Regions from separate parts of the Homo sapiens genome. Here regions 1, 2, 4, 5, 6 and 7 are each linked to region 3. The links are contacts of gene promoters, found by promoter capture Hi-C in blood cells and fetal thymus (Javierre and others, 2016). All regions are on one chromosome and are shown on one strand. Each heading gives the region's core, a stretch centred on a gene start or on the middle of the fragment in contact. The rest is flanking DNA. Distances are from core to core; before and after follow the strand shown.

Region 1 (2,700 bases), core at 117-2,616, 1.6 Mb before region 3:
AAGAATTGCATTTTTTTCTAACATTACCTGGACGTGGGAAGCAAGACCACACTCGCGCCAAAAGCAAGACCTGCTTTGCCACGCGGGCCTACAGTTGCCAGTAGGGCTAATACACCGCGTCCTCCGCAAATACAGCTACTCCGAGCGGGTTGGACCAGCATGCTAGTGTTACCTGGCGGCAGTGCTAGGAGGTTAAGAGTAGGCAGAAATAAATGAACAAGCAAGAGAGCCCCTGGGAAAATAAGTCCTGGAGACGCTGGCCACTGACAGAAAAAGACAATGGGCACACTTTTTATTTTGAGACGGAGTCTCGTTCTATCGCCCAGGCCGGAGTGCAAGTGGCGCGATCTCGGCTTACAACTTCCGCCTCCCGGGTTCAAGTGATTTTCTACCTCAGCCCCCAAGTAGCTGGAATTACAGGCGCGCGGCACCACGCCTGACTAATTTTTGTATTTTTTTTTAGCAGAGATGGGGCTTCACCATGTTCTTCAGGCTGGCCTCGAACTCCTGACCTCGTGATGCCCCCGCCTCGGCCTCCCAAAATGCTGGGATTACAGGAGAGCCACCTCGTCACGCAGTGCAGCCCCCACACTATTTACAAATACAGTACCTGAGGGCCGATATCCCAAAGCTAAGGCTTATCAAAGGCCTGCGAAAAGACAGACACCGGGCACCACCAGCAGTTGGCCATTCTCAACGACCAGCTGCACAAGATCGTGGGCCGGAAGCACCTTGGGCATGCCACGTACTGCTCACAACCAGGACGGGATGTGCTCAGGAAGTCACCTCAACGCTAAAGTAAACTAAAGCATTTACACCACATCCCTGTGTCAGAAATAAAATTTTTTCAGGGCCACTTTTAAGCGCCGCGCTTTAACAGAAATCGGCCGGCCAATCACACACCACCGCGGGAATTTGAAGAAAAAGTAGGACCTGGTGGCTCAAGTAGCCTTAGCTATCCGGTGACTGTGGCTGAGACTGAGACGGAAGGATCCTTGCGCCCAGGCTGCTGGGAGCTGTTAATAACTGACCCCCAACCAGCACGACTAGGATAGACCGTGGCCGCACAACACCGCAGCACCCGCACCCCTCTCCACCCCACTCCCCCCTCCAAAAAGCTTCAGCTCTTTTGACTGAGACCTGTGGGTGGCTCTGAAAAGAGCCGTTTAAAATTTTCAAAGGGGAACGTCCCGCCAGTTTCACTTTTTCTTCGGAGCTGCCTTCTTTGCCTTTGTAACCTTCGGCTTCCCCGACTTAGGCTTGGCCGCCTTGGGCTTAGGGGCTTTGGCCTTAGCTGGACTCTTGGCAGCTTTTTTTGGCTGAGGTGTTTTCACCTTTTTCGCACTCTTGGCCACTTTCTTGGTCCCAGCAGCGGTTGCTGGCTTCTTTACCTTCTTAGGAGTCTTTTTGATGCTTTTCTTCGGGGTAGCGGCGCCAGCCACCTTCTTGGGCTTCTTGGCTGCCCCAGCAGGCTTCCTAGGCTTGGCTGCGCCAGCCTTTTTGGCCTTGGGTTTGCCTTCCCCGGAAGCCGCTTTCTTGTTGAGTTTGAAGGAGCCAGAAGCACCGGTACCTTTGGTCTGCACCAGAGTACCTTTGCTCACCAAGCTCTTGAGGCCAAGCTTGATACGGCTGTTGTTTTTTTCTACATCGTAGCCAGCAGCCGCAAGCGCTTTCTTAAGCGCGGCCAGAGAAACGCCGCTGCGCTCCTTAGAAGCTGCCACTGCCTTGGTGATAAGCTCAGATACTGGGGGTCCGGATGCTTTGCGTTTCCCAGCAGTTGCGCCTGCCTTCTTCGCCTTTTTCTTCACAGGTGTTTTTTCTGCGGGTGCAGGAATGGTAGGAGCAAGTGGAGCAGTCTCCGACATGTTTTTGTCTTCCCAGAAAAGACAATAAGTAATCTCAAACTGTCAGAACAGCATGTCCTCTACGAGGGAGGCTGAGGGTTTATATAGAGAGACGCTGAGTGATGATTGGTTCCTTGCTCCATGCGCGGCGCTGCTGGAAAAGGACTCCTCGTATCTACCGCGCTGCTGTGTTTGTTGCCCCTTAAAAAAGAGTAAAAATATAAGAAATCTGGGCATGAAATAATTAGAGACTTGGGGGAAACTGATCCGAGAGAGTTCGGGCTTCATTCCTGCCTTTGTTTCTATGCATAGTTTTAAAACCGGCATCTTGAAACTTTTCTTATTCCCCCAACTCTCTTTCAAACTTCGGTCAAATCGAGACAACTTTCATGTTTTCCTTAAAAATACTATTTCTCCCTCTTTCATTTGCAAATCTCTCTTCCAGGGCATTGTTCTGTGAATTCTTACCGTCTCAACTTTATATAGATAAACTCATTTTTATCCAAATGTGCAGGGAAATTGGGTTTTTTCGCAGGAACAATAGCACAGGCTCTCTGGCGAGCTGTTTGCATCAACCTCTAGGAATTGGCACTGAGGTAGAAAGTTCTATGTACAAGAGGGGTGATTAGTTTAGAAAAGATAGTTTAAAAAAAAAAATAGTATTTGAGTTACCAGTGTGTAAGCTGGATTTGATCTCCATATTTCAGTGGTTTAAACATTTCCAGAAAGATAAGGGTGAGGCTACATTATTCCTCTTACAGAAAAAAAAGTCCTAAGTAGAGTTACCAACCTTCTCTTAAAAGTTAGGATCATGGATTTTTCCGATCTAGAATGGGCATTAAAGATCAACTACCAC
Region 2 (2,700 bases), core at 62-2,561, 1.6 Mb before region 3:
TGGGCCTTTCCTTTGTCCTTCTTCTGGGGATTTCCATAACACCTTTGGATAAACTTGCCTCTTTCCCTCTAACACTTGCCAATGTTGTTCTGCTAGAGTCTTACCATCCATACCAGGCATCAAAAAATTTAAAGTAAACAAGACTAAATGTAATTTTGTTTAAGGTGGTAGCTGGTCTCCTATTCCCCCTTTTTTTCTCAACATACGCTGTAGTGTTTGATGTGCCCGCTCTATAATGCCTTGTCCTTGGGGATTGTAAGGAATTCCTGTTTTATGAATGATTGCCCATAACTGTAAAAAATTTTGAAAAGCATGACTAACATAAGCAGGTCCATTGTCAGTTTTTAATTGTTTAGAGACCCCCATATGGGCAAATGACGACAAACAATGCCATTGGACATGGCCAGCAGTTTCCCCTGTTTGACATGTGGCATGTAACATATTGGAGTAGGTGTCTATAGTCACATGAACATAGCTAAGTTTGCCAAAGGCTGCTGTATGTGCAACATCCATCTGCCAGATTTCATTTGGAGCCAAGCCTCGTGGGTCGCATCCTTCCACGGGTGCAACACCAGGGACATGCTGACAAGTGGAGCAGGCTTGCACAATAGCTTGAGCTTGACTGCAAGGCAGATGAAACATATGAGTAAGGGCAGAGGTGTTTTGATGCAGTAATGCATGGGAAGCTTGGGCTTGTTGGAATACAGAACCAATTAATTTATCTGCTTTATCATTACCTTGAGATAGTGGTCCAGGAAGTTGCGTATGAGAGCGAATAGGAGCAGCACAAGAGAGAATAGCTTGCTGAAGTCTTAGAAACAAATTAAGCAGCTCTGGTTCTAGGGTGCCCTTAATAGTGGCAGTCTCAATGCAACTAGCTGCATTTACAACATAGGCTGAATCACAAACAATATTAATAGGAGATAAAGCCGTGAGCTCTAAAACCTGAATAACTGCGATTAACTCTGAGCATTGAGCTGAAACTCCAGAGATCTTTATTGTTTGAGTATGTTTAGTTGCATAAATAGCTGTGCGGCCTTTGTAAGAGCCATTGGTAAAATATGTCTTTCCACCTGGAATGGGCTTGTGATGGGTAATTACAGGGAGGATAAAAGGGTGAACTTTATAAAATTGCAAAATCTTGTCTGATGGATAATGGTTATCTATTATTCCCACAAAATCTGCAAAAGCAATTTGCCATGCAGTCGACATTTCCCATGCTGCGGCCTGTTGTTGGGAATCCAAGGGAACAATAATTTTATCAGGATCATATCCCGTAAGCATTTTTTACCTGTGCCTACCTATTGTTATAAGTTGAGTAATTAAAGAAAGATAAACTTGCAAAGATTTCACTGTCAGATTGAATAAAAAAAAAAAAAGCCTTTATATTACCATTACAGATTTGTCTATGAATTGGCCTAAAAATCCTGATGGAGAATGGGGGGTAGGAAGAATAAACAAAAGCAAAGGCTTTTGTGGCTGTAGCCGGGAGGCATGTTGTTGCTGAAGGATCTGTTCTACACGCTGTCACTCAGCTTCTGCCTCGTTAGTAAGTTGCCGAGGAGAATCTAATGAAGAATCTCTTTGGAGGGTTTGATAAAGGTGTGTGAGTTGGTAGATGGCAATACCTAGCATCAGGCACAGCCAATTGATATCCCCTAATAATTGTTGGAAGTCATTCAGAGTTTGTACCCTCTCCCTACAGAGAGTTACTTTCTGAGGCCGAACACTTCTTCCAGTAACAATAGTACCTAAGTACTGGTATGGGGAGGTTGTTTGCACCTTTTCAGGAGCTATTTTGAGATTCCATGCAGTCAAGACTCATTTTATTTCCCTGAATAACTGATGTAACATTTGATCTGTAGGAGCGGCCAAAAGAATATCATCCATATAATGAATGATGTAGGCATTGGGAAATATATTGCGAGGCTCCTTTAAAGCTTTTCCTACAAAATGCTGACATAACATAGGACTGTTGAGCATGCCTTGGGCTAAAACTTTCCACTGAGAGCGAGAGACAGGCTCTCTTTGATTAATAGAAGGCACAGAGAAGGCAAATTGAGGCTTATCCTTTTTGTGTAATGGTATATTAAAAAAAAAACTCTTTAAGACCTATTACTACAAGAGTCCAATCTCTTGGAATGGCTGCTGAGGATGACAGACCTTGCTGTAATGCACCCACTGGTTTAATCTGTGCATTTAATAGCTCTCAAATCATGTAGCAGTTGCCATTTTCCTGACATTTTTGGATCACAAATACAGGTGAATTCCAGGGGCTGACTATTCTGTATGTTCTGCTTCCAGTTGCTCTCTCACTAGCTGATGGAGTTGCATCAGTTTCTCCTGTGATAGGGGCCATTGATCCACCCACACAGGTTTGTCAGTCAGCCACTCTAGCGGCAAAGCAGTGGGTGGAGGAGAAATACCAATGACCCCCACCAAAAATCCTGATGACCTAGCCCTTTTCTGTTTTGTCCAGTTATTGATATTGGATCAGGGTTTCCCTGCAGGGGCTTTCCTAAGCCTTTTCCACTCTGAATCCCATTTTCTTTAACATTTTAAATCCTGGATTATCAATAGTTTCCTTTTTAAGTCTCATGTCCCATGCTGTCAGTAAATCTCGGCCCCATAGATTAACAGCTATATTTGCAACATAAGGTTGAAAAGTACATGACTGTCCATGTGGTCTGAGACAGGATA
Region 3 (2,743 bases), core at 218-2,717:
GCCTGGGCATCATAGCGGATACAAAAATTAGCCGACCGGGGTGGTGCACGCCTTTAGTCCTAGCACTTCACAGAGGCTGAAGTGGGACGATCCCTTGAGCCGGGGAGGCTGAGGCTGTAGTGAGCCGAGACCACGCCACTGCACGCCAGCCTGGGTGACAGCGAGAACCTGACTTGAGGAAAAAAAAATAATCCAGTACAGAATGACACGGTCATATCAAATTGGCATGTAATAGAGACCCCATCTTGAAACTTGCTACTATATTGTCTTGTGCGTTGATAGCATATTATATTAATGCCGAACACATTAGTGACGCCGAAGTAGCTGGTGCCTAAATGGCTTAAACGCGGAAAAACCACATACAGATGATGGAACAAAAACTGGCCAATCAGATTATAGAGCGGGCTTTTTAAAATATAAGAAGCTTCTTTGTAGCTAGGCGTCTGACAAAAAGCTTGACACCAACTTAACAAAAACCAACGGCTGGAATTCATACTCTAATAACAGACTGCATGGGTAAACTACGTGGGGAGTCCAACCAACACCCTGGACTCTTGCTTGCCTTGCGTTACTCGATTAGGGTTGAGGGAGAACTGCCCGAGATTTTTCGAATGCAAGGAATCTTGCTGCCTGATCTAACATGTTGTGCACAGCCATTTTTTAGAGGTCTCTGGGTGGCTCTGAAAAGAGCCTTTGGGGCTTTGTTGCGGTTTTCACACGCCAGCTTCCTACTTCTTTTTGGCAGCCGCCTTCTTGGCCTTTGCAGCTTTAGGTTTTGCTGCTTTGGGCTTAGCGGCTTTGGGCTTTGCCGCCTTCGGCTTAACTGCCTTGGGCTTGGCAGGACTCTTGGTTGCCTTTTTCGGTTTGGCAGCGGCCTTGGCCTTCTTAGGGCTCTTCGCCACCTTTTTGACGCCAGCCGCCGCGGGCTTCTTCGCCTTCTTCGGAGTCTTCTTCACTGCCTTTTTCGCCCCTGCAGCCTTCTTGGCCTTCTTAGGCGTGGCCCCCGCGGGCTTCTTAGCTTTAGCGGCGCCTGCCTTCTTGGCTTTGGGCTTGGCTTCCCCGGAGGCCGCCTTCTTGTTGAGTTTAAAGGAGCCAGAAGCACCAGTGCCCTTGGTCTGCACCAGGGTGCCCTTGCTCACCAAGCTCTTGAGGCCCAGCTTAATGCGGCTGTTATTCTTCTCCACGTCGTAGCCACCGGCCGCTAAGGCCTTCTTAAGGGCTGCCAAAGAAAGGCCATTGCGCTCCTTAGAAGCAGCCACAGCCTTGGTGATCAGCTCTGAGACTGGGGGCCCCGTCGCTTTGCGCTTAGCAGCGCCGGCGCCGGCAGCCTTCTTAGTTGCCTTCTTCTTAGCCGGGGATTTCTCCACCGGCGCTGGGGTGGCTGTCTCGGCAGGAGCGGTTTCCGACATGGTGGCAAGAAACTGCTAGAAGAGAATAAGCTCGAAATCTAAAGAGCAGGTTTTGCGTTGCTGCTATGCTCGGGCCCCGGGCTTATATAAGCCGGCGCTGCCCTGTGATTGGTGGAGCGTCCAATCCACCGCCCTCTGGCCGCCGCCGCTCGCGGTTGGACTCCCAAATTGTGTTTGTTAGTCCTCAAAATTTGATTAAATGCTTAAAACAATGGTACAGAATTTGGCACTTTGAAGCTCCAAAGGAGGAAAACAGCCTCCAGGTTCACATACTTGTTTGTGTTTTCAAGAATCTTGTGCAATTGATGAAAGATATTTTAAAAAATCCCTTCAGCTTTTCATAAGAATCCATTGGGCTGAGGGCATCATGTTAGTTAGTAGCGTGTCGCGATAAATTTCTACTAAGTATCCAGTGAAAGTTATTTTTAAAAATTTGCCCATGAGTTCATGCTTTGATTTTTGCAAGAGAAAAGACACTGGGTTCCTTGGTTTGGGCATGAAGTTTGTTTCTAACTGTAGCAAGTAACACAGGCACAGGACAGCTGGTTGCCTACAGCCCCAACTTAACCACATAGACTTGACTTTACAAACTGGTTCTGTGTCCTAGGAGTTTCCATGTGCTAATGTCTTTACAGAATGGGATTTTGCAGCTTGGAAGAGTTCCACAGTCAGAGTGACTTCTTCTGCATTGCAGCACCAGTAATACAAATCGCTTTGACTTAAGGATCTAACTACTCAGATTCACATTCAAACTTAAATGTGTTATGTTTTCTAATTAGAGTGTTTTCTCTTTTTAGTTCCTGGGCAAATCCATTAAAAAAGGGGAAGAAAAATAATATAGATAATTCAGTTTAGAGAAAACTCAAACTTGTGGAAAATTATTCAAGAGCTCCCAGTGATCCTCAAATGCACAAACTGTTTAGGTGGCCCAGGACACTGTCAGGTTTTCGAAATGTTCTCACTGCTCCCCCTGAATCTCCACCCACATTTAACAAGCTGCACCATCAGGAATACTCTCTTCTATGAGCAGCCAGGATACATCAATATGGGTATTTTTGTGTGTTTTAGCGCTAATATTTTAGAAGAATATCTGGCTATTGACTGTGAAAAGGTTGGATTGGATATTGAGCGACTTCACATTATAGAGGTTCAGAGGAACTCAGGAAAACATAGGCAAATACACTGAGGTTGAAATAAATGAAGTTTACAATTTATGGGAGGTGGAGGGGATTGGACAGGATGCCTGGATGATAAAAATGATCAAATGATGATTTGGATTCCTAATGAAATCAACAGTCACTTATTTCTCATTCTTGAAATGCTGTGCAAGAAAA
Region 4 (2,700 bases), core at 3-2,502, 1.5 Mb before region 3:
TTTTTTTTTTTGGTAGAGACGGGGTTTCATCATGTTGGCCATGCTGGTCTTGAACTCCTGACTTCAAGTGATCTGCCTGCCTCCTCCTCCCAAAGTGTTGGGATTACAGGTGTGAGCCACTGCACCAGTTCCAGACTAAGTATTTAGACATTTGAGGGGATTATTGACAACTGGGCCTTGGGAAGATTATTCTGGAAGATATCTATACAATGACAAGATTGGATTCTGTGGGGGAGGGATTATGTTCATGGGGAGGAGGTTATGTGTGCTGGTGTGTGTGTGTGGTCCTTGGACTTAACCCCACCACCTACTGGCAGAAGGTCAAGGTCAACTGAAAGTCTTTGCTCACTTCCATCTTCTGCCTCCACCAGAATACCACCTCCCCGTGGGAAAGGGTTTTTAATCCTCACTCAGTATTCTCAGCACGTCTTATCCAATAGCTTTGGAGTGAACAACAAGACCTTCATAACAGCCACTGCAACTGCTGTCACCTTTCCTTTGCTACCCCTCCCACTCCAGCCATGCCTGCTTCCCCCAAGGCCTCCCGCGCACCAGGCCCAACCTTCAAAGCCAGCAACATGAACAAGAGTCCTCTGGCTTTGGAAAGACGGCGGCTTATGTTTTCCTCCTCATGTTTCCTCCCCAGCAAAATCACTCTACATAGAGAGCCCTCTCCTCGTCTACACCAGCAAAGCCACTGACACCTTGGGGATCTCAAGGCTTTGTAAAAGAACGGAAGGAAAGAAAGAAAGAGAGAGAGAGAGAAGGAAAGAAAGAAAGAAAGAAAGAAAGAAAGAAAGAAAGAAAGAAAGAAAGAAAGAAAGAAAGAAAGAGAAAGAAAGAAAGGAAGGAGAAGAGAAGGAAGAGAAAGAGAGAAAGGAAGAGAGAGGAAGGAAGGAAGGAAGAAAAAAGAAAGAAAGCGAGAAAGAAAGAAAGAATAAAGTGAGAGAGAGACATATGAAAGAAAGAAAGAAAGAAAAAGAGAATGAGAAAGGAAAGAAGGAAGCAAGGAAGGAAGGAAGAAAGGAAGGAAGAAAGGAAAATAAAGGAAAAAAGTCTTGCTTCCAAAGACAGAAAAAGGAAATAGAAATACCTAATAATCCCAAAAGGTTATTTGCTGCTTGAGATTTTTGGGGGGTTTTTGTGTGTGTATTCTACCTAGTAACAGCTGAGAAATAAGGCTCGAGACACCATTGGTTGGTTCAGCCTCACTCGGCCAATCCTGGGCTCTAAACTGCTCAGTGGAAATCTTGGGACTTTTTGGACACCCAGAGAACAGGTCCCAGATACCGAGTCCGCAACTCCAAACATCGCGATTAATAGGAGGTGAACACAGCTTTTCTCTTCTCTTTGGGATGCTTTGTTGTCTGGTGGTGACTGTGCCCATGGGTGAGTTGTATCGGAAAATCGTCATGTGAGGATCAGAGGGGAAAAGAAAACAGAGGTTAGTTCTAGAAGGTAGGAAAGGGAGAGGAGGCGCTACAGCTCCGGGGTGGGGGCGGTAGCTGGGGGCGGTAGGTGCGGGGAGCGGGATCTGCTCTGGAGAGGAGAGGGGGACCTGGGAGACAGGAAGCCTACTGGTGGGGAGGCGCAGCCTCGCCTGGCTTTACCTCGAGTGTCCCGACCTGGGTCTCGGGGAGGGGGAAGTGGAGGGACGAGGGTGTGAAAGAATCCAGGGACAACTGAAGAAACCGGACTGTGGCCCGAGAAGTGGGAAGAGGAAGGAGGAAAACGGCCCCCTTGATCTCTGCATTGATGGCTTACTTATGGAATGTTTACGGAATCCCTCTTTCGGAGATACCTGAGCCTTGAGATGCAAGCGACTCCCAGAAGTTGGGGCACCGATGAGACCTACTTGAGTGACAGGAGAGGTTGGGCCCGACCAGCACTGAGGTGCCAAGACTCCTAGGCTGATTCTCCTCCTCTGTAACCCTAGGCCTCTGGTCTCTGCCTGCCCTGGGTGCTCATGGAACCAGCTGCTGCTCTGCACTTCTCCCTGCCAGCCTCCCTCCTCCTCCTCCTGCTCCTCCTCCTTCTCAGCCTGTGTGCACTGGTCTCAGGTAGGGATGTGTGTCACTTGCTGCTGTCACCTCTCAGAAAGGAACATCAACCCTGTAGTCTGCAAAGGGAAAGAAGGAAGAACTGTGGGGTTGTTGACTTATCCTTTCATTCTGAACATGTTCACTGAATTTATACCAGCACTGTCCAAAAGAAACACAGTGAAGCACAAAGGTCAAGTGCATATACAAGTGCAAATCTTCAAAAAGATTTTTTTAACTTTTTATTTATTTGTTTATTTATTTAAGAGAGAGTATATTGCTCTGTTGCCAGGCCGGAATGAAGCAGATGGAGAATGAGATCATAACTCACTGTAACCTGAAACTCCTGGGCTCAAGGGATCCTCCCATCTCAGCCTCCCAAGTAGCTGAGAGTACAAGCAAGGGCCACCACACTCGACTAAGTTTTATTTTTTGTAGAGACAGGGTCTCACTATTTTGCCCAGGCTGGTCTCAAACTCCTAGCTGTTAAGGATCCTCCCACTTTGGCCTCCCAAATATCTGCAATTACAGGCGCAAGACCCTGTGCCTATTCTACTTTTTATTTTAAAAGGTAAAAACATACTTGAAATAAATTTTAATAATGTATTTTGTTTCATATAAATAATCACATATCAATATTTAAATGCTTAGTTAATAGAAC
Region 5 (2,700 bases), core at 2-2,501, 1.5 Mb before region 3:
TCATTCATGCCCCAGCCTGCTTCTGACTTCATTCTCTGCTGTCCCAGTGTGTGGCTTCCAACCTCAAGGCTGCCTCATGGTCCCAGGGTGGGCTACTGCACCTCCGGGTCCAAAGTCCATGTTCTAGGCAAGAGGAAGAAGGAAGAAGGGAGAGTGTACCCTCACACTCCCAGCTATTTTGGCCTCCCTTTGAAGGATTTCTGGGAGAAGTACAAGCCCACAACTTTCACCTACAAACCGCTGGCTCCAACTTAGTCCCTTGGCCTGCCCTATCTTCAAGGGGGAAGAGCAGGATGCAGTACCCCAGAAAATTAGGCCTTGTCACTAAGAAGAAGGGGGCATGCACGCTGCAGAAGCAACCAGCCATCTCAAGCAGATACCACACAGCCTAAATTCAAACTGTTGCAATATAATCAAATCCCATCAGCTCCAGTCACATATTAGCTCTAGGAGATTTCTGGCTTGCAGCCCAAAAAAGTGTGTTTTGAGGTCGTAAGCCACAGGGAGAACAAGATTGTCCCATAAACTCCTTACAGAGATGGTGTACAGGAAACGAGCCTTACAGAGACCACAGCCTATGGAGTGTCTAGCTTCAGAGAATATGTACTCCACTGGCAGCGTGAGAAACAAATACCCAAGAAAATACAATATAGCACAAACCAGGAGCTGAGGGTGAATGAAGATGCTCAGAAAGATCTGCAGTAAGAATTTCCTGGGAAAGGTAAAACAATGTCAAGCAGCACTGCCTCTGGAAATCAGAAAAATTATATTATTTGATACCATATCCTAAGCCTAAATGCCAGAAGTTCTTAAAGAGGTGCAGTTTGTCTCATTTTCTTTCCATTCATACCTTTATTAGGCTCTGTAAAAAAGATCCTCCTCTTCTACGTACCTATCTACATGCAAGCAAACTGCCACAGAAGCATCTTAATTAGTGCACATCTTCCTCTCTTTGCACATTAAATTTTTTTACTTTCCTACTCCATTCTGCTAATATTTCTATTACCATGTAAAAGACACGAGACAGGTGAATATAAAGAAATACTTATATACATCCACGCACAAGAATGATTCAAATAGATAAACACAGAAACACAAACACTAAGGGAGGTAGGGCTGGAGTTTTTCCTCAACGTGTACAATTCAATGTACTTTCAGTTTTCATTTCAACGTTCCTCAGTGGTTTCTGCCCAGCAACTGATGAGAAACATCACCTCTGAGCCAATCAAAAAACTAATTCTTCCAAAGAGCGACTCTTACTGTTTCTCATGGTGAGAAGACAATATTTGCTTTCTCTTTTTCCTTTCTTCCGGATGAGAGGCTAAGCCATAATAGAAAGAATGGAGAATTATTGATTGACCGTCTTTATTCTGTGGGCTCTGATTCTCCAATGGGAATACCAAGGGGTAAGTGCAGGAAATTGATTAGAGCCTGGGCTACAACGCATGGGAGGAGCGGGGCTGAATCGCTGAGAGTGGTGAGTGGGCATGCAGGGAGAGTACTCTCCCAGAGAAAGGGGTGCAGTGCCTGTGTGTGTGTGTGTGTGTGTGTGTGTGTGTGTGTGTGTGTGTACATGTGTACATGTGCACACTCGCACATGCACATATGGGCACGTGGGAAGACGGGAGAAGTACTGCAAAGTATAAGGAACTGCAGAGGTTGGGATTTAGTGGAAGGAAAGGGAGACAACATGAATGAAGAAATATTCCAACTGCATGTTCTTAACGTATTGTGGTCAGAAAAGGGCAAACAAACAAACAAACAAAAAACCCTTAAAATCTGTTCTGGCCAACTCAAGGCATCTATTCTGAGAAATTCTGAAGAAGAAGAAGAAAAAAGAGATGTGCCTCATAGATTTATATGTAAATGTGTTTATTACAGAAGTATTTATAATATAGTAAAATCTGAACCAACATACATATTCAACAGGTGGGGAATAGACAAACAATGCATGGTTCAGTCATAAAACATGTTCCATGTAACCATTAGGAATCATAATTTTAATTAAGTGAAATTCTTTATAATTTTAATAACACTGGATCCTTATATTAAACCATTTTTGGTATCTTTTAGGGATAGTACTTGGTTTTCTTTCCATTCATCATTTCCCCAAAACCTAAAGCATGATTTCCCATGGTTACAAGCTACTACATTGTATGAATATATAATTATTGGGAGTCTCTGTGAGCCTACTCTGACTCAGAAAGCCGCTCCTAAAGAAGAAAAAAGAACAAACAAACAAATAAAAAACCCGAATTATTTTTAAAACTCTTTATTTTGGATTTTTCAGTTTCTACATTTTGTTACTGTAGATTTTACTAGATTGAACAGCCTTATCCATAAATATTTGCATCAATCTCTAAATTTTTTTCTTCAACACTAACTTTTATAGTTGGAATTTTGGGGGCAAATAATACAACATTTTAAAGGCACTTGCCATGTGTACATGGCCAAATGCTTCCAGAAACATTTCCACTTCCATTAGCAAAGTATATAACTACAGAGTATTTAAGGTTTTATTCCTTTATATTTTTTTCTTTGGCAAAATTGTCTATAGTAGAAAGAATGAATAATAAATAACCTAAAAAATAAAAGTTCTCCCTCTGAGGACAGCAGAGAAATTTTTAGCTTAGCTTAATAATACCTCCTTCTCCTTAGGAGAATAAAGAGCAGTTTCGAGGAGCAGAAGATGTGGTGAAA
Region 6 (2,700 bases), core at 61-2,560, 1.5 Mb before region 3:
GAAGGGAATCAGAGAGACATAAAAGGACAAGGGTAGTCTTCGGTCTTGGTAGCCAGTCTTCGGTTTTGGTATCTCATCAAAAATTTGGATTGTTGGAGGAAATTTAAGTTTGAGGAAAATGATGGAACATTCCTTTGGGGTTGCATTGCTTTTGAGATGCCCATGGACATGCAAGAAAAAAAAATAGGACAACTGTATATTCTGGAGCCCAGAGGAGAGAGATCTGGAGTAGAGACGATTTTCAATCCATCCGCACATGAGCAGTAGTTCATCAATCATTCCTTACCCTTCTTCTGTTCATAGAGTTGGGCCATTGATGAAATACAGAATCCCTGACTTGCTCACTAATACTCACACACACACACACGCATAGTATTGTGGTAATGGTAGTGCAGTTTTAGAACCTGGGGTTCTGCTCTTCCTTTGGAAGTGGTCTTTGAATATAATTTCAAACTATTCACAGAATATCAGATGCAGTTGTTCTTCCCCTTGTGAGAGAAGGCCCCATAAACGAAAGAGGATTTGACCAGCAAAAATATTTTTTACTTTCTAGTTTCTTTCAGAAATGTTCTTTCAGCTGGTTAAAATATTCTGAGTTTTATGAAAAGACAGAAGCCTATCTTCACTGAAGAACCTTTTGATGAATCTAGATTCTGGGGTTTTACAATGATAGTTACAATTGTACTGACATTTGTTGAGCCGTTAGTATATCGCAGGCACTGGACTTTGTCAGAAAATATAGGGGATCTCTGTGGAACATCAGTGTTATTTACTGAGGATAATTTTCTTTCTTTTTATTTTTTTAATCTATTTTTTATTTTTTTTTTACCCCCGAGACGGAGTCTTGCTCTGTCGCCCTGGCTGGAGTGCAATGGCGCGATCTCGGCTCACTGTAAACTCCGCCTCCTGGGTTCAAGCGATTCTCCTGCCTCAGTCTCCCGAGTAGCTGAGATTACAGGCGTGCACCACCACCTTGGCTAATTTTTTTGTATTTTTAGTACAGACGGGGTTTCGCCATGTTGGGCAGTTTCAAACTCCTGACCTCATGATCTACCCGCCTTGGCCTTCCAAAGTGCTGGGATTACAGGCGTGAGCCACCGCGCCCGGCCTGAGGATAATTTTCTTACTAGGCAAAAATATGAGAATTGTAAAAGTTGTTGAAACATATTCCTGATTTGCATTATAAAAAAGACCCAAAGAACATTCTTAGCGTATCATGTATGTGCCTGAATTTGAAGTTTGTTGATTGCTTCCAAGTTTTATTCTTAAGATACGAATTCAGCTATTATTAAATCCCTAATAAAAGGAGTACAATATGTGATGTATGGAAACATGTAAGACATTTAATAAGGTTTTTGGTATCTGTAGTCGTGGCCGAGTGGTTAAGGCGATGGACTAGAAATCCATTGGGGTCTCCCCGCGCAGGTTCGAATCCTGCCGACTACGGCAGTGGGTTTTTGCATCTTCAAGCAGGTTTCATCCGACCGATCGATATTTCACGTGTAAAAAGGCTTTCGATCTTTTACAAGTTAACATCAAAATGGATTTCTTGGGGATTCAGGGCAGGACAATTTCAATTTATGTCTCAGAGGTCCTCAAAATGGATTTCTCATTGCCCAAAGTAAACCTTATCTCTGATCTTTTACAAGTTACATCATAATGGATATTTCATTGTTCAGGAAGGAATCATTGTGCACAAGGATGGATTTCTCATTACCCACGAAGGAATCATACTTCATGAGTAAAACAAGTCAAAGGAACAAATAAAACTATATTTTGTTTTAATTGGAGGGTTTTGGGTTCAAAATCCTTATGATCAGAAAGAAATAAAATTTCATATATTCATGTATAGGAGGACGCGGTAATCCCAAAACGTTTTTTTCTATAGGTATAACGCCTGTCTTCGTTCGTCAGAGGGCCAGTGGCGCAATGGATAACGCGTCTGACTACGGATCAGAAGATTCCAGGTTCGACTCCTGGCTGGCTCGTTCGACTTTAGTGGAAACTTTGAGGTTTACATAAATGCCCCTTCCCTGGGCACTCATATACATTTTATGTATTTTATCATTTTAATTTTTAAAAGAATTACACAAGATGACAAAAATTTTTATAATATAGACTCCAGCTTCAGTTCACTATTGTTTTACATACATAAGAGTTTTTTTTTTTTAAATCACATCACTAAATTGATAAGTTTCAGAACTGACCAATTTTCACATTGCTTGATAAAACTTAATACAGGGGAATTTTTTTTTCTTTTTTTGAGATGTATCACTGTGTCGCCCAGGCTGCAGAGCAGTGGCGCGATCTCAGCTCACCGCAACCTCTGCTTCCTGAGTTCAAGCGATTCTCCTAGCCTCAGCCTCCAGAGTAGCTGGGATTACAGGCATGTGCCACGACACCCAGCTAATTATTTTTGTATTTTTAATAGAGAGGAGGTTTCGCCATGTTGGCCAGGCTGGTCTGGAACTCCTGATCTCAAGTGATCAGCCCGCCTCGCCCTCCCAAAGTGCTAGATTACAGGCGTGAGCCACCACGTCCGTTTGGGAAAACCTTGTGTCATTCTGTGAGAGTTACGATTGAGAATTCACAAACAGAAAATTTCTAGATAGCAAACAATTTTGGTTTCTTTTCTATCCTTTTCGCATACTCATAATTTCAAGAATCACTTGAAACAAAAATCAAGTCTCTTCTCTGCTC
Region 7 (2,700 bases), core at 189-2,688, 1.6 Mb before region 3:
CTATAGATTCTAATTCACTTGTTCAGTCATGATATTAAAAGAGAGTAGCAGTCAAGCTCTTCAATACTGGCTTGATCATAAAGGAAGATACACAATGGAAAACTAGTTTTAAAAAGGTGAGGCAAGAGATAATTTTCCCAATCCAAAAGGTACCAGGAATTGCTCCCAATACAGCACTTCCTGACCAAGCAAAAGAAGGTGTCTGCAAAATATCAGTCATAGCATTAGACCAGCTCCAATTAGGGCTTATTCTGCCCTGAGGTCTTTACAGTGTTTAACAGTGTGGTGGCCACACTTCCTGTGTAAACTCCTCCCTTTGAATGTTGGCTGGATCTAGTGACCTGCTCCTAACCTACAGAATATAAAAAATGTGATAGGATATTACTTTCATGATATCTCATGTGAGATATGTGTCTGTTGTTTTAAGCTGCCAATTTGGGTGCAATTTGTTATACAACAGATAACTAATACATGCAGGAAGGCCTGATCAGCCAGAGAGCAGTGGATCCTATGGCTGAAAGGGAGTATAGTTGAGAATGTAAAAATACAAGACATCATTGCCATAAATTTGCCAAGTCTGAGTTCAGATGCTAATCATTACATCATAGACCCTTTCCATAAGATTCTCCTATTGAAAGACTTGTGTATAAGCTTGGTGTAAATCTATACATTATCTTTTTTAAAAAAGCCATGACCAATAGATTAAATCTAAAGAGCATTAACAAATGCCTGCTATTTATTAATAAAGGGTATGGTAGGCTAAATAATGACCCCCAAAATAGGTCCACAACCAATCACCAGAACCTGTGAATAAGTTACCTTATGTTACCTTAAGTGGTCAAAGGAATTTTGCAGATGGGATTTCATTGAAGATTTTGAGATGGGGAGATTATCTTGGATTATCTAAGTGGGTCCAATGTAATCAAGAGGGTCCTATAAAAGGAAGGCAGGAGGTTCAGAGTCAGGAAAAGAAAATGTGACTACAGAAGCAAGAAGTGATGCAAGGAAGGGGCCACTAGAAGCTGAAAACGCCAGGAAAATGAATTATCTCATGATGTCTCCAGAAGATACACAGCCCTGCTAATACTTTTATTGTAGACTTCTGATATCCAAAACTGCAAAAAAACATTTAATTCACGTTGTCTTAGCCAGGGATGGTGGTGTGCACCTGCAGTCCTAGCTACTTGGGAGGCTGACAGGGAACGATTACTTGAACCCAGGAGTTTGAGGCTGCAATGAGCTATGATTGTGCCACTACAGTCCAGCCTGAGTGATAGTGTAAGACCCTATTTTAAAAAATAAATAGGCCGGATGCGGTGGCTCACGCCTGTAACCCCAGCACTTTGGGAGGTTGAGGCGGTCAGATCAAGGTCAGGAGGTCGAGACAAGCCTGGCCAACATAGTGAAACCCCGTCCCTACTAAAAGTACAAAAAATTAGCCGGGCTTTGTGGCGGGTGCCTGTAATCCCAGCTACTCAGGAGGCTGAGGCAGGAGAATGTCTTGAACCCGGGAGGTGGAGGTTGCAGTGAGATGAGATTGTGCCATTGCACTCCAGCCTGGGCGACAGAGCAAGACTCTGTCTCAAAAACAAATAAATAAATAACAAAAAATAAATTCATATTGTCTTAAACCACCAAATTTGTGGTAAGCAATAGGAAGCTAATAAAAAGCCACTAAGATAGTACCATGAATAGGGCTAAACAGGCAGAAAGAAGTCTACAGGGCTTTTTTCTGGAACAATTTTTAGAGGCCAGAGGAGTTCATGGAGCTCACTTTTGTTGTCATTGAGAGCCCTGGAGGATATGTTTTGAACTGTAGAGAGAGTCAACAGAAGGAATTTAGAGTCCCACCAACAGTTGGGATTTCTGTATTTGGAGTCCAGAGTGTTAACCGTTATACCATGGTATCTTTGTATAACAAAGGTTCTAGGGAAGACTTGTATACTATTGCATCTGGTCAGTTAACCTTTAAAATGGGCATAGATTCAATGTAAGGAACACTAATAGCTTCTCATAGGGAGAAAAATGCAGGTTCTCAGATGACTCAATTTGTGGTTTGCACATATTCATGCCCGAGTCCAGAGATAGCATAGAGAGCATTCGGAGTGAGCTCTGAAGAAGAAAAAAGTCATAGGTGGGGCCTCTGACACATGAACCTTTACTCATCCCAGCAGATGATTAACTTACAGTGGTCTAACTGACTTCAGGCTCCAGCAAAGCAAAGCAAAGCTTTCAAAAGAAGAGCTTCTAGGATACATGAGGGTGATGGGCAGTGGACAACTTTCAGTAGCCAGAGAAAAGAGCAAGAAGCGGGATGTTGCTCCAGAAAAGAAGTGCAAATATGTGAGACTATCTATACATGCCCAAGTGTGCTTCTCCATTTGGGTAAACTCAAGAGCAAGGTCACCAAAACTGAGACAGGTCCACTGAAATTTGAAGCCTAGGTGCTAGCCATTAAGTCACCAGGACATGGAAATTGAATCCCTACTGAAAGACTGATGTGTACTTTTAACATACCAGCTAATCTTTCAAATAATGTGGACAATGCATTAGCTTAAGGAGTTTGGATGGCGCCCCAACTGAGTACAAACGGCAGAGGCTCTAAGATGTGTACAACTGCAGTGCTGTGCAGTCCAAACATTTTAAGGACAGTGTTAGTGCTTAGAAGCAGATGGGACGCTTTAAATAGGCTCTAGAAAA

Evidence for each region. Contacts are between HindIII fragments. The CHiCAGO score rates a contact against its expected background, and 5 or more counts as called.
Region 1: a fragment that was not itself captured here is called in contact with the fragment with the promoter of H1-5 in region 3 in 11 of 17 cell types (erythroblasts, fetal thymus, M0 macrophages and 8 more); the score reaches 34.2 in erythroblasts.
Region 2: a contact is called between a fragment that was not itself captured here and the fragment with the promoter of H1-5 in region 3, in 3 of 17 cell types (M0 macrophages, fetal thymus and monocytes). The highest score is 9.4, in M0 macrophages.
Region 4: a contact is called between the fragment with the promoter of BTN2A2 here and the fragment with the promoter of H1-5 in region 3, in 3 of 17 cell types (naive CD4 T cells, monocytes and M0 macrophages). The highest score is 6.4, in naive CD4 T cells.
Region 5: the fragment with the promoter of BTN3A2 here is called in contact with the fragment with the promoter of H1-5 in region 3 in 14 of 17 cell types (activated CD4 T cells, naive CD8 T cells, total CD4 T cells and 11 more); the score reaches 19.0 in activated CD4 T cells.
Region 6: a contact is called between a fragment that was not itself captured here and the fragment with the promoter of H1-5 in region 3, in 1 of 17 cell types (total CD8 T cells). The highest score is 6.8, in total CD8 T cells.
Region 7: a contact is called between a fragment that was not itself captured here and the fragment with the promoter of H1-5 in region 3, in 12 of 17 cell types (monocytes, total B cells, fetal thymus and 9 more). The highest score is 13.1, in monocytes.

Annotation. Positions count from the first base shown.
Region 1 is chr6:26,233,069-26,235,768 of GRCh38, forward strand. It overlaps H1-3 (H1.3 linker histone, cluster member), which reads right to left and starts at 1,919. Exons shown (of 1, transcript NM_005320.3): 1 at 1,144-1,919. The coding sequence starts at 1,865. The coding sequence ends at 1,200. It also overlaps the pseudogene H2AC9P. RefSeq lists enhancers at 242-291, 1,122-1,531, 1,445-2,432. The HindIII fragment of the contact is 501 bases long and covers 1,117-1,617 here.
Region 2 is chr6:26,290,526-26,293,225 of GRCh38, forward strand. The region is part of intron 1 of LOC124901287 (a long non-coding RNA gene); the gene reads left to right. Among named protein-coding and RNA genes, the nearest start is that of TRX-CAT1-2, 5.4 kb to the left of the region's middle. The HindIII fragment of the contact is 1,254 bases long and covers 685-1,938 here.
Region 3 is chr6:27,866,121-27,868,863 of GRCh38, forward strand. H1-5 (H1.5 linker histone, cluster member) reads right to left here and starts at 1,468. Exons shown (of 1, transcript NM_005322.3): 1 at 672-1,468. The coding sequence starts at 1,409. The coding sequence ends at 729. RefSeq lists enhancers at 1,288-1,397, 1,658-1,727. The HindIII fragment of the contact is 3,270 bases long and covers 453-2,743 here.
Region 4 is chr6:26,381,856-26,384,555 of GRCh38, forward strand. BTN2A2 (butyrophilin subfamily 2 member A2) reads left to right here and starts at 1,253. Exons shown (of 8, transcript NM_006995.5): 1 at 1,253-1,326; 2 at 1,937-2,060. The coding sequence starts at 1,967. RefSeq lists a silencer at 1,102-1,191. The HindIII fragment of the contact is 7,335 bases long and covers 1-2,700 here.
Region 5 is chr6:26,363,947-26,366,646 of GRCh38, forward strand. It overlaps BTN3A2 (butyrophilin subfamily 3 member A2), which reads left to right and starts at 1,252. Exons shown (of 11, transcript NM_007047.5): 1 at 1,252-1,406. RefSeq lists an enhancer at 1,210-1,259. The HindIII fragment of the contact is 4,055 bases long and covers 1-2,700 here.
Region 6 is chr6:26,326,225-26,328,924 of GRCh38, forward strand. It overlaps TRS-AGA2-1 (tRNA-Ser (anticodon AGA) 2-1), which reads left to right and starts at 1,365; the gene lies at 1,365-1,446. It overlaps TRR-ACG1-1 (tRNA-Arg (anticodon ACG) 1-1), which reads left to right and starts at 1,916; the gene lies at 1,916-1,988. All of the region lies in intron 2 of LOC101928743 (a long non-coding RNA gene), which reads right to left. The HindIII fragment of the contact is 3,995 bases long and covers 1-2,700 here.
Region 7 is chr6:26,307,794-26,310,493 of GRCh38, forward strand. No RefSeq gene overlaps it. Among named protein-coding and RNA genes, the nearest start is that of TRQ-TTG3-1, 2.1 kb to the right of the region's middle. RefSeq lists a cis regulatory region at 2,063-2,177. The HindIII fragment of the contact is 1,578 bases long and covers 650-2,227 here.